2 separate regions of the Homo sapiens genome follow, and region 2 is linked to region 1. Evidence: promoter capture Hi-C in human tissues and cell types (Jung and others, 2019). All regions are on one chromosome and are shown on one strand. The core of a region is centred on a gene start or on the middle of the fragment in contact, and the rest is flanking DNA. Distances in the headings are between cores, read along the strand shown. Region 1 holds the start of MYO18A (myosin XVIIIA). Region 2 overlaps TAOK1 (TAO kinase 1).

Region 1 (6,029 bases), core at 233-2,732:
GGTTTCGCCATGTTGGCCAGGCTGGTCTTGAACGCTGGCCTCAAGTGATCTGCCCACCTCAGCCTCCCAAAGTGCTGGGATTACAGGCATAAGCCACCATGCCTGGCCTCAAATGTCATGTTTTTGAAGCTGCTCTTCTCACTCCTCAAGCCAAATAAGCCTCCCATCATAGCACCTATCTCATCATCCAAGTAATGCCAGCATGGTGAACCCTACTACTGTCACAGCTCAGGTCTACCTGTTCCCCATGTGATTTCCCTGGAGATATGCCATGTCTGATCTCCTTCTGTGTCACCCCAAGTGCCTGGGGCTGCACTTGGCACTTAGCAGGCAGTTTGTTAAATTGAATTTGAGTTGCATGTTATTCCAAAATGTGTATCCCGCCTGGGTCTATTCCTCAGGAACTCCCTAACTCTTACTCAACTCTCTGCTTTCTGAGCCTCCTTGCTCCAGCCTTCCCTGGTCTGTCAGGTTGGGCTGCCCTTGCCTGGAGAAGTTCCTGTTTGGGCTGTCTAGGGAGGTAGCAGCATTTGTCTGCTACACCCTTCTTCCTGCACCACCCCACTCAGTTTCTTCCACATTCTGGCACACCCCACTCCAGCATGGACACTGCCCAGGGAAGTGTCCCCATTTCTTTCTTTCTCCAAACTCTAGACATAGCACCTATCTTGGAGGCCTGGTATCTGGATGTCCCTTGGCCTCTCCCAGGAAGTATAAACTGTCTTCTTGGTGGGTACAGCAGCTCACTTGATATTTACAGCACACAGTGGACCCAGGGACAGACTGCATTCCAAAGAGCTTCTGAAAGTGTTAATCTTGGCATTGGTGAACTCCTTTAGGGAGTGAGTGGCACTTACAGCCATGGCTCCCGGGCCCTGGTACGCCTCTTGATCCACTCCATTTTGAGGCAGGGCTGTATCAGACCAAGCTATTGGGAGTCTGTTTTTACCTTGGGGAGTGCATTCTGGCAGTGCCATCTCGGACATGGCAGGCAGTACCTGGTCTGGACTGAGCCTGGGGCACCATCCAGCAGGGCCCTGTGTGTGCCTCTGCAGAGCCACCTTGGGAGGAGGCGGCCAGTAAGACTTAATTGCTTCCTTTAGACAGCACTACCTTGAACACAGCCTGCAGAGTTCGGTGCCTGCCTTGGACAGCCCCTCTTCTATACGTTCATCATGACCCTGGTGCCTGTCCTAGGCAGTGCCACTCAGCCCCTTTCGGACCCTTTTCGGACAGCCTCCAGTGCCCAGTGCAGACAGAAACTCCAGGCAGGGCCTCTCTCAGACACAGCGAGAGGGGCTTCGGAGTCCACAGCGGACGGAGGCTGCCAGGGCAGCGCCCGGCCCGCCTGGCCCACGTCTGGCGGCGCGCACTGGCGCTGCCAGGCAGGCCGGGCGTTTATCCCCACAGCCGCCAGCAGGGAGCTCCCTTTCGGCTCGGCCTGCGCGGTCGCTGGGGGCGGCGCTGAGCTGCGCCGCGCTGCGCTCTGCTCCATCCCTGACCGGGCCGAGGCTGCTGGATGCCGCGTCTCCGCTTCTGCTGCCTGCCGGGCGGGCTCCGGTGGCCGGTGAGTGCCGGTCGGCGGCGGCGGCCGCTCGGTGGCGGGCCCGGCTTGGTGGGGCGGCGGGGCGGGCTCCGGCCGGGAGGGAGGGCGGGCGGGCGGCGGGGCCCGCCGGCTCCTCCTCCTCCTCCCCCGTCCCCTGGAAGCAGCGGCCCGGACTCCCGGCTCCCGTCCCTGGCGGCGCCGTGGAGCTCGACGCCCGGGGGTGGGGGCCGATCGGGAGCGGCGGGGAAGGGGGAACCACCGGCCCTTCCAGCCAACCTGGGGGGCGCAGGGAGGCAGGACAGGGTGGCCTTCAGTGTGGGGGGATTTGGGGCTTGGAGGCGCCCAGGTGGCCCGGAGCTGCGGGGTGGGGGCTGCAGCCTCGAGGGTGGGGGGACTTCTCCTGCCCCCGTCCAGGCCCCACGATGGAGCGAGCGAGAGAGCGGGGCGCTGAGGAAGGCAGCGGGGAAGGGGAGCACCTCTACCGACCCTTTTATCCCTCCCAGCGGCCTTCACTCTTTCACTGCCGGGCAGACTGCGGGCTCCTCTCAAAGGAGCAGCTGCTAGACAGCTGGCAAAACAATGGAGACCCCGCTTCCCTGGGCCCCCTCCTCTTGGGACAGAAGATGAGAGGGTGAATGGTGGCAGGCTTTGGGGATTAGGGAGTGCAGGCTGTGCCCTGAGACTGAATGCTCACCTCACCTTTCCCTGCAGAGGGGTGGGGTGCGTGTGGGAAGGTCGGACAAGCTGCCCCAGGCCTCTGGAGAGACCGCCCCGACGCCCCGCCCTGCTAACCTGTCATGCCAGTTGTTTCGCCAATGGGAAGGGGAGGTGGTAGGGGTGGCTGCCCCCTCACCCTGCCCCTTGTTAGTGGGGGTGCGCTCCTTGGTCCCAAACCCGGCCAGGAGTGTGGGTCATGTTCCTGGGTGCGATAAGGCCCGCAGGGACAGGCCAGGCATTGGGGCTTTGTTTTGGGGGTGGAGATGGGGGAGTTGCCCTACTGCAAGGCACATGTGTCTTGCTGATTAGTTGGAAAGGTTGCGGCCAGAATGAGCTAGAGGTGGGGGGTGGGGGAGATGGGGAGGAAGACAGCCAGTTTGTTTTTGAGCGGGTATTCATTTTGCCTGACCACTTTGCCAATGGGGCATGTGTTTGGCGCTGGCCTCATAGTTTGTATTTGTGTGGGGAGGGCTGGGGGAATGCTTCCTGAGAGGGACTGTCCTGGCTAGGGCTTTCATTCCCTCAGATGGCCACCCCGAATTAAAGAATTGGATTCCCTCCCTGCTTCACCCTGCCAATGACTTGGGCTAGTTAGTGTGGGTTCGTCTTGTCTTTTGGAGCCCCTGGCGTGTCTGTGGCCGAGAAGGCCTCATCAGTGCCCCTGTGGCAAGTGAGCTCTGGGAAGTGTGTATGCACTGGGGTGTGCTGGAAGGGAGGGGAGGCCACCTGGGTGATTAAGAGCAAGATCACCTGAGCAGGACGGTGAGTACAGAGCCCATTGAATCAGCCGCCTTTCCCTTGTGCTTTGGAGCCCTTTTCTTGAGCAGGTTGGTGCCCTGTTGTTGTGGCAACAGGCCTGGCCTAATGTTCCCCACCCTTTTTAGTTCAGGGGCTACTTTCTATCTGGAGATATTGAAAGTTGCTCTCCTGAGGTCTCTGGCTTCCTGACAAGCCTCACTGGCTCTTTGTCCATGGCTTCCCACCTCCTCAGCTTCCTCTCTGTTTTTTTGTGATGAAGTCTTTCCAGGAAACATCCTCCTGGTTTCTGGATTTGACATGACGGGTTATATATAGCCTCGGGTGGAGGTGTGCTTGTCCATTTTGGGTTGAGGACATGGGGGTTGTGGCCTCAATTCCAGGAAAACCATGGCTTTGGGGGCAGCTATTGTGTTGAGGGATTAGGGGAATGAGAAGGGTTGTAGGTGGGGGTGGAGGGTGGGCATGGGAGGGGCCACAGGCTGGCGGTCACTTCCTTTGGGAGCTTTGAACTTTGAACAGTTGATGACCTGGTGCCTGGTAGCTCTGAGTGTCTAGTTTGTTTACTCTCTCCTGGCCTGGCCCAGGTGCCAGAGTGTGTGCCTGAGGGCTTCCTCCTGCGCCCCAGACTTTCCTCATGTGGGTTATGCCCTTCCTGACTCCCACCTGGTCTCTCAGCCTCACTCCTGGGCTGTCTGGGTAGCCAGCCAGTTCCCTGGAGGCCCCCTCACTGGCCCTGGTAGTGGCTATTCATTGAGGACTGCATGTGTCTTCAGAAACTGGGCCTGAAAACTCTGGGTCCCCCAGAGGCAGGTACCTAAAGGTGGACTGGGTGGGGCAGAACTGGGGCTCATGTGAAAGGGAGAATCCACCCTGCTGAGGTGGAGCTGGGAGTTGTTGGAACTCAGGAAGCCTTCATCTGGACTTGCTGTGTCACAGGTCTTCAGGGCAGCAGGGCTGTTCTTAATCCTTCAAACCAGAGGTCTCTCCTCAGCCAGATCCTCTCACCTGGGGTGGACGCCACAGGCAGGAGCCAGAGCATCCACGTGAGCTGGGTTTTGTTGGTGGCCTGGGGTCCCAGGCCTGAGTGTGGTGGGAAAACTGAGGGGCTCTGGCTGGTTGTAGTTTAAAGGTTTGGGGCAGTAGGAGGGCCCAGCCCACTGTCTGCTGTAATTGACAGGTTCCCACAGGACTTGGGATTGGTAGGGCAGCTTGATGGAGTTTAAGTTCTGCTTTGGGTCAGACCCCCGGGTGCTTTAAGATCTGCACACCCCACCCCATCACCATTTCTTCCCCCTAGCATTTTCCAAGGTGGCCTGAATTAGAGGAGTTGGGGAGGTGCCGAGGTAGGAGCTGGATTGGGAGGGGTGGTGAGCAGACCTGGTGAGCCTCCACTTCCCACCTTCACTTCCCTGCCCTTCTTTTGAGGTAGGAATTGCAGGGCTTGTAAAATGTCAATTTCCCTTGACATTTTAAACAGTTTAGAGTCAGGCAGCAGTTTTGGTTGTTAGACTGATGATTTTACAGGACCCAGGGCCCTTTCTGTCTGCCAAGTAGTTTATCATCACTTACAAGAGATTATTGTGATTATTCTCTAATATTCAGAGAGGTTGGATGATGGGCTGAAGGTCACACAGCAAGTCAGAGGCAGAGCGGGATTACAACCTGCAGTGTGTGGTTGAGCAGAATAGCTCTCCAGCAGAGGCTGAGGGCCAAATCTGAGCTGTCAGGCCCTTGAAGATAACTGTAGCTGAAATAGTGGAGGCTTAGAGAGGGGAGGGGACTTGCTCAAGGTCACACGGAAGGGGATGTTAGCGGAACTGAGCGCCAGGCGGTGCACCTGGAAGAGCAGCAGGGAACCTGGCGAGGCCGCAGGAGCTCTCCCGCTCGCGTTCCTCCATGGCCCGCGGGATTGCTGCCTTCCGGGGGAGATGGGATCGCAGCGGGAGGCGCCGCGGGGCTGCGGCTGCGCCGGCCCAGCCGCGGGGAAACGCCAAGGGCCGCCCGGCTCCCCGCGCGGCGGCGTGAGGGCTGGCTAATGTCACGTGAGAAGCGTGCAGTCGGCGTGAGGGAGCACACCTGGAGCCAGATAAGCTCCGTGTGACCTGGCAGGGAGTCACCCGGCGCTGCGGAGCTCAGCACAGCCGGCCGGGAGGAGGCTCCCCCTGGAGCACGGGGCCAGGCCAGGTGCTGGCTACCCCTCCGGCCGCTGCTACAACCCTTGGCGAGGGGCAGAGCGCGGGGAGAGAGCCGGGGTCCCGGGGCTGGAGGAAACGGCCGCTCAGGGAGGTCAGAGGCCAAGGGAGAGAGGCCGGCTCTCTCGGGAAAGTATTTCCTTTGTATTTATTTATGAGTGTGGTCTGGGGGTGGGGGTGGGAGGACTGACCTAAGTATCTATCCACCACAGCCAACTCTGGGCACCCTTGTCTTGGGACTCTAACGTTATAGTTTCCATTTCCTGGGTTTTTTTTTTCTTTTGCCAGCTGCTAGGTGACCCATTTAAATGTGTCCCCACTTACAGCCACAAGACACCAGTGAACTCTATTTTAACCAAGTCCCCCAAGCCACTGAAACTTTTTCAAGACATGAAGGCAATCCTTAAACTGACCATTACCCTGTTTGCAGCTTTACTGCTGGTGGATTGCCTACTAGTTTGTCCATTTTTTTTTAGTCTGGAAAAAAGTTGAATCATTAGGTAGAAAGCTAAAGCGTTACTAAAGTGTTACCCTTCTTCTCCCCTACTCTCCAGAGATGACCACTGATAAATTTTTGGATCGAATTTTTCCAGACTGCTGTTTTTTTTGAGAAGGAGTCTCGCTCTGTCACCCAGGCTGGAGTGCAGTGGCGCAATCTTGGCTCACTGCAACCTCCGCCTCCGGGGTTCAAGCAATTCTCTGCCTCAGCCTCCCGAGCAGCTGGGATTACAGGCGCCCGCCACCACGCCCGGCTACTTTTTTGTATTTTTAGTAGAGACAGGGTTTCACCATCTTGGCCAGGCTGGTCTTGAACT
Region 2 (6,516 bases), core at 91-2,590, 290 kb before region 1:
GCTTAGGTTACAACTGTTTCTTTGAAAGCAAACACAGAGCACCTCCTATGTGCCAGGTATTTTTTATATAGTAACCAATTTAATCCTCAGAATAATCTTATGAGGTAGGTCCTATTAGTATCCTTGTTTTATGGTTGGAGAACCCTGAGAGGCAGAGAGGTTACCCATCTAATGTTACTTTTTCTTTAATCATAGCCTCAATTTTACAAGTCACCACTACCACTACCAAAACAAACTGGATAAAAATGCACCAAACACTACAAATCTAAATCTACAGTACGTATACTAAAATGATACTTAGCTGTGACTTATTAATTATTCAAAATAAGGGGCCATTCCTGGTAACAAAAGGGCAAAATAAATTTCTACTTCTTATAATAAAGTGCAACAATTCTCTATCTTTAGTGTTATTCGACCAAGGAATCGTGATCAGCTCAAATTTCACCAGGATTCACCCAAATTTCATCATGATCTTTCTGGTTAAATGCATTACAGTACATTTATGTCAAGAAAACATATGCTAACTTTCAACCTCAAGTAACATGATTGTTTTCACAATGTTTGAATGGTACTACTAAAACTGTCATAGGACATTTTATCATACATACAAAGGTCAACAGAATTCTGAAAAATCTCTGCAGTGAGACTTGCAAAAGTTCTATTATCTCTTACTGCCTACAAGTTCTAGGAAATATTGCTTGTTTTCTTTCAGTACGAACTAACATTTCAGGTGTTTTTGCATGCATTTACACAACCAGTATGAGATATTCTGAATTAATTCATTATAAACCAAAATCAGCTAAAACTGCAACAAGGGGAGAACAAATACCAACCCATGCTGTGTGTTCACGTAAATAACAGCCTTTGTATTCTATACTGTTGGGATGTTTTATTCTTTGTAGAAACTTGACTTCCTTAATAATATCCTGCCATTTCTGTGGGGAGAAAAAAGGTAAAGAATTATGAACAGGACTTTTCCTCAGAAAGTTATATAAGAATAAAAGTAATTACTAAATTTAGAAGAGTTAACAAGAACATGCAACTTTGCTTGGTTTTACTTATTTATTGGGAGGGTCTTGCTCTTTCACCCAGGCTGGAGTGCAGTGGCACAATCTCAGCTAACTGCAACCTCCATCTTGTGGGCTCAAGTGATCCTCCCACCTCAGCCTCCCAAGTATTTGGGTCTACAGGCGCACACCACCATGCTCATCTAATTTTTCTATTTTTTGTACAGATGGGGTTTCACTGCATTGCTCAGACTGGTCTCAAACTCCTGACCTCAAGTGATTCACTTGTCTTGGCCTCCCAAAATATGGTCATTTTTAGATAAAATGTCAAAATTAAAAAGTTTAAATAAATTATATTCAGCCAGGTACAGTGGCTCACGCCTGTAATCCCAGCACTTTGGGAGGCTGAAGCAGGTGGATCACAAGGTCAGGAGATTGAGACCATCCTGGCCAACATGGTGAAACCGTGTCTCTACTAAAAATACAAAAATTAGCTGGGCGTGGTGGTGTGCACCTATAGTCCCAGGTACTCGGGAGGCTGAGGCAGGAGAATAGCTTGAACACGGGAGGTGGAGGTTGCAGTGAGCCGAGATCGAGCCACACTGCACTCCAGCCTGGTGACAGAGCGAAACTCGGTCTCAAAAATAAAACAAATAAATAAATAAATAACATTCATATACAGGCATATCTCAATTTACAGCACTTTGCTTTATTGTACTTCACAGATGTTACTTTTTTTTTTTTAAAACAAATTGAAGGTTTGTAGCAATCCTGTGTCAAAGCAAGTCTACCAGCACCATTTTTCCAATAGCATGGGCTCACTTGATGTCTTTGTGTCACCTTTTGGTAACTCTCACAATATTTGAAACTTTTTCATCATTATTATTATATCTGTTATGGTGATCTGTGATCAGTAATTGTTTACATTACTATTGTAATTGTTTTGGGGAGCCATGAACTGTGCCCATATAAGATGGTGAATTTAATCAATAAACATGTATTCTCACAGTTCCACCAGCCAGCCATTCCCCAGTCTGTCTCCCTTTCCTTGGGCCTCCCTATTCTCTGAGACACAATAATGTTGAAATTAGGCCATCAATAACCCCACAGTGACCCCTAAGTGTTCAAGTGAACGGAATACTCACACATCTGTCACTTCAATTCAAAACTTACAAGTGATTAAGCTTAGTGAGAAAGGCATGTCAAAAGCTGAGACAGGCTTTGAAGCTAGGCCTTTTGCACCAAATAGCCAAGTTGTAAATGCAAAGAAAAAGTTATTGAAGAAAATTTAAAGTGCTACTCCAGTGAATATATGAATGATAAGAAGGTAAAACAAGTTTATTGTTGATGTGAAGAAAGCTTTAATGGTCTGGATAGAAAATCAAATCAGCGACAACATTCCCGTAAAACAAAGTCTAATCTAGAGGATGGCCCTAACTCTCTTTAACTCTACAAAGGCTGAGAGAGGTGAGAAAGCTGAAGAAGAAAAGTTGGAAGCTAGTAGAGGTTGCTTCATCAGGTTTAAGGAAAGAAATTATCTCCGTAAAATAAAAATGCAAGGTAGGCCGGCACGGTAGCTCACTCCTATAATCAATCCCAGCATTTTGGGAGACCAAGGCGGACAGATCACTTGAGGTCAGGAGTTCAAGACCAGCCTGGCCAACAAGGTGAAACCCCATCTCCACTAAACACACAAAAATTAGCCAGGTGTGGTGATGCGTGCCTGTAGTCCTAGCTACTAGGGAGGAAACGCAGAGGAAGGAGAATCGTTTGAACCCAGGAGGCGGAGGCTGCAGTGAGCCAAGATAGTGCCACTGCACTCTAGCCTGGGCAACAGAGAGAGACTCTGTCTCAAAAAAAAAAGAAAAAGAAAGAAAGAAAAGTGCAAGGTGAAGCAGCAAGTACTGATGTAGAGGCTACATGCAAGTTATCCAGAAGATCTAGCCAATGTGTCATTGATGAAGGTGGCTACATTACGCAACAGATTTTTTTTTTTTTTTTTTGAGAGTTTCACTCTGCCATCCACACTGGAGTGCAGTGGCATGATCTTGGCTCACTACAACTTCTGCCTCCTGGGTTCAAGCATTCCTCCTGCCACCACATCTGGGTAATTTTTCTATTTTCAGCAGAGACGGGGTTTCACCATGTTGGCCAAGCTGGTCTCGAACTCCTGGCCTCAAGTGATCCACCTACCTTGGCCTCCCAAAGTGCTGAGATTACAGGTGTGAGCCACCATGCCCAGTCAACAGATCTTCAGTGTAGATGAAATAGCCTTATATTGGAAGAAGATACCATCTAGGACTTTCATGGCTACAGAGCAACTATGAAATGCCTGGTTTCAAAGCTTCAAAGGACAGGCTGACTCTCTTGTTAGGGGCTAATGCAGCTTGTGATTTTAAGTTGAAGTCAATGCACATTTACCATTCCAAAACTCCTACTCTGCCTGTGCTTGTTCAATGAAACAACAAAGCCTGGATGACAGTACATCCATTTAAGCATGGTTTAGTGAATATTTTAAGGCCACGGTTGAGATTTACTGCTCAGAAAGATTCCTTTCAAAATATTACTGGTCTTTGCCCGTGTACCTAGCCACCCAAGAACTCTGATAGAGATATAAAAGGAGATTTATGTTGTTTTTATTCCTGCTAATACACCATCCATTCTGCAGCCCATGGATCAAGGAATAATTTTGAGTTCCAAGCCTTATTATTTAAGAAAGGCCAGCAGGGCACAGTGGCTCACGCCTGTAATCCCAGCACTTTGGGAGGCCGAGGCGGGCGGATCACCTGAGGTCGGGAGTTCAGGACTAGCCTGACCGACATGGAGAAACCCTGTCTCTACTAAAAAAATACAAAATGAGCCGGGCGTGGTGGTGCATGACTGTAATCCCAGCTACTTGGGAGGCTGAGGCAGGAGAATCACTTGAACCCAGCGGGGCGGAGGTTGCGGTGAGCCGAGATAGTGCCATTGCACCCCAGCCTGGGCAACAAGAGCGAAACTCCATCTCAAAAAAAAAAAAAAAAAGAAAGAAAGAAAGGCTATAGCAGCTGGGCATGGTGGTTCACGCCTGTAATCCCAACACTTTGGGAGGCCGAGGCAGGTGGATCACCTGAGGTCAGGAGTTCGAGACCAGCCTGGCCAACATGGCAAAACCCTGTCTCTACTAATAATACAAAAATCAGCCAGGCATGGGGATGCAGGCCTATAATCTCAGTTACTCGAGAGGCTGAGGCAGGAGAATCGCTTGAACCCGGGAGGCAGAGGTTGCAGTGAGCCGAGATCATGCCATTGCACTCCAGCCTGGGCGACAAGAATGAACTCCATCTCAAAAAAAAAAAAAACACACAACGGCTATAGCTGCCATAGACAGCAATTTGTCTGATGGATATGGGCAAAGTAAATTGAGAATCTTCTGGAAATAATTCATTCTAGATGCCATTAAGAACGTTTCCGACTCATGGGAGGGCAAATTAGCAACATTATCAGGAGTTTGCAATAAGTGGATTCCAACCCTCATGGATGACTTTGGGGGGTTCAATATTTCAGTGGAGGAAATAATTGCAGATGTGGTGGAAACAGCAGGAAAACTGGAATTACACATGGAGCCTGAAGATGTGACTACACTGCTGCAATTTCATGATAAAACTTGAGTGGATGAGAAACTATTTGTAATAGATGGGCAAAGAAAGTAATTTCTGAATATTACATAAACTTAGTTGATAAAGCAGTAACAGAGTTACAGAGGATGGACTCCAATTTTGAAAGTTTTATCATGGGTAAAATGCTGTCAAACATCATTGCATTCTACAGAGAAATCTTTTGTGAAAGAGAAAACTGATGGGCAAACTTCACTGTTGTCAGATTTTAAGAAATTGCCACAGCCACCTTAACCTTCAGCAACCACTACCCTGATCAGTCAGAAGCCATCAACATGGAAGCAAGATTCTCAACCAGCAAAAATAGTATGACATGCTGAAGGCTCAAATTATCATTAACTTTTTTTTAGAAATAAAATATTTTAAGCTGGGCGCGGTGGCTCACGCCTGTAATTCCAGCACTTTGGGAGGCCGAGGTGGGGGGATCACGAGGTCAAGAGATCGAGACCATCCTGGCCAAGATGATGAAACCCCGTCTCTACTAAAAATACAAAAAATTAGCCAGGCGTGGTAGCGGGCACCTGTAGTCCCAGCTACTCGGGAGGCAAGCAGGAGAATCACTTGAACCCGGGAGGCGAAGGTCGCAGTGAACCAAGATTGCGCCACTGCACTCCAGCCTGGCGACAGAGTGAGACTTCATCTCAAAAAAAAAAAAAAAAAAAAAAGAAAGAAAATATTTTAAAATTAAGGTACGTACACTGTCTTTTTTAGACAAAATGTTATTGCACACTTAATGGACTACGGTACTACAGTATAGCATGGACATATATATATATATATTTTTTAGATGAAGTCTTGTGTTGTTGTCCAGGCTGGAGTGCAGTGGCACAATCTTGACTCACTGCAGCCTTCGCCTCCTGGGTTCAAGTGATTCTTGTACCTCTTCCTCCTGGGTTCAAGTGATTATCCTGCCTCAGCCTCCCAAGTACCTTGGAATTACAGGCACCTGCAACCATGCCTGGCTAATTTTTGTATTTTTAGTAGAGACAGGGTTTTCCACCACATTGGCCAGGCTGGTCTCAAACTCCTGACCTCAAGTGATCCGCCTGCCTCGGCCTTCCAAAGTGCTGGGATTACAGGCGTAAGCCACTGTGCCAGGCCTAGACATAATTTTCATATGCACTGGGCACCAAAAAATTCATGTGACTTGCTTTATTATGATATTTGCTTTATTGTAGTGGTTGAGAACAAAACCCACAATATCTCCAAGTCATGCCTATAGTTTACAACTCAATTATATAATTTACAAAATTATTTCACTCAAGGTAGGTAAGACAAATTTGAGTTTGATAAAATTTATCATTAATGACTCATTAAAATTTTACAACCATACACCAATCATGTTGATAACTATATACCATATTCAGTGATTTTTCTTCAAAAGTCCAACCTTTCTTTTTTTTAATACAGTTTTATTGATATATAATTTATATACCATAAAGTTCACCTGTTGTGTTTTTGGCTCATTTCTATTACCAAATGTTAGGGTTTAACTCAAATGAAGTAATTCCTCTGAGATTTAAGTTCCTAAATGCAGACTCTAAAATGCTAGTGAATAATTAGCTATTATATATAAAAGTTCACAGAAAAAAACCAAGCAGTACAAAAATCTTTTCCTACATAGTTTACTAAGAGCCTTATTCACTAATACCTATACCTATCAGGAAATACAGTTAAACCTTTGGTCTTAAGCTACTTCATGACAACCTTAAATACTTAGGCCACATCCTAAACATAGTTACTCTTAAGAAGCAACCCAAGAACTCTAAAAATACAGATCCTTTGGTCCATACCCAGAAATTCCACAGATTTAGGAGGTGTGAGAGGAGGACTAGAAATCTGTTTTTGCTCTT

What was found. Contacts are between HindIII fragments. The study calls those that stand out against the background at their distance.
Region 2: a fragment that was not itself captured here is called in contact with the fragment with the promoter of MYO18A in region 1 in 1 of the 25 tissues and cell types used here (lymphoblastoid cells).

What each region holds. Positions count from the first base shown.
Region 1 is chr17:29,175,851-29,181,879 of GRCh38, reverse strand. MYO18A (myosin XVIIIA) reads left to right here and starts at 1,482. Exons shown (of 42, transcript NM_078471.4): 1 at 1,482-1,567. RefSeq lists silencers at 1,403-1,623, 1,589-1,638, 1,759-1,808, 4,810-5,009. The HindIII fragment of the contact is 14,487 bases long and covers 1-6,029 here.
Region 2 is chr17:29,470,089-29,476,604 of GRCh38, reverse strand. TAOK1 (TAO kinase 1) reads right to left here. Exons shown (of 20, transcript NM_020791.4): 4 at 834-935. Among named protein-coding and RNA genes, the nearest start is that of MIR4523, 83 kb to the right of the region's middle. The HindIII fragment of the contact is 3,038 bases long and covers 1-2,859 here.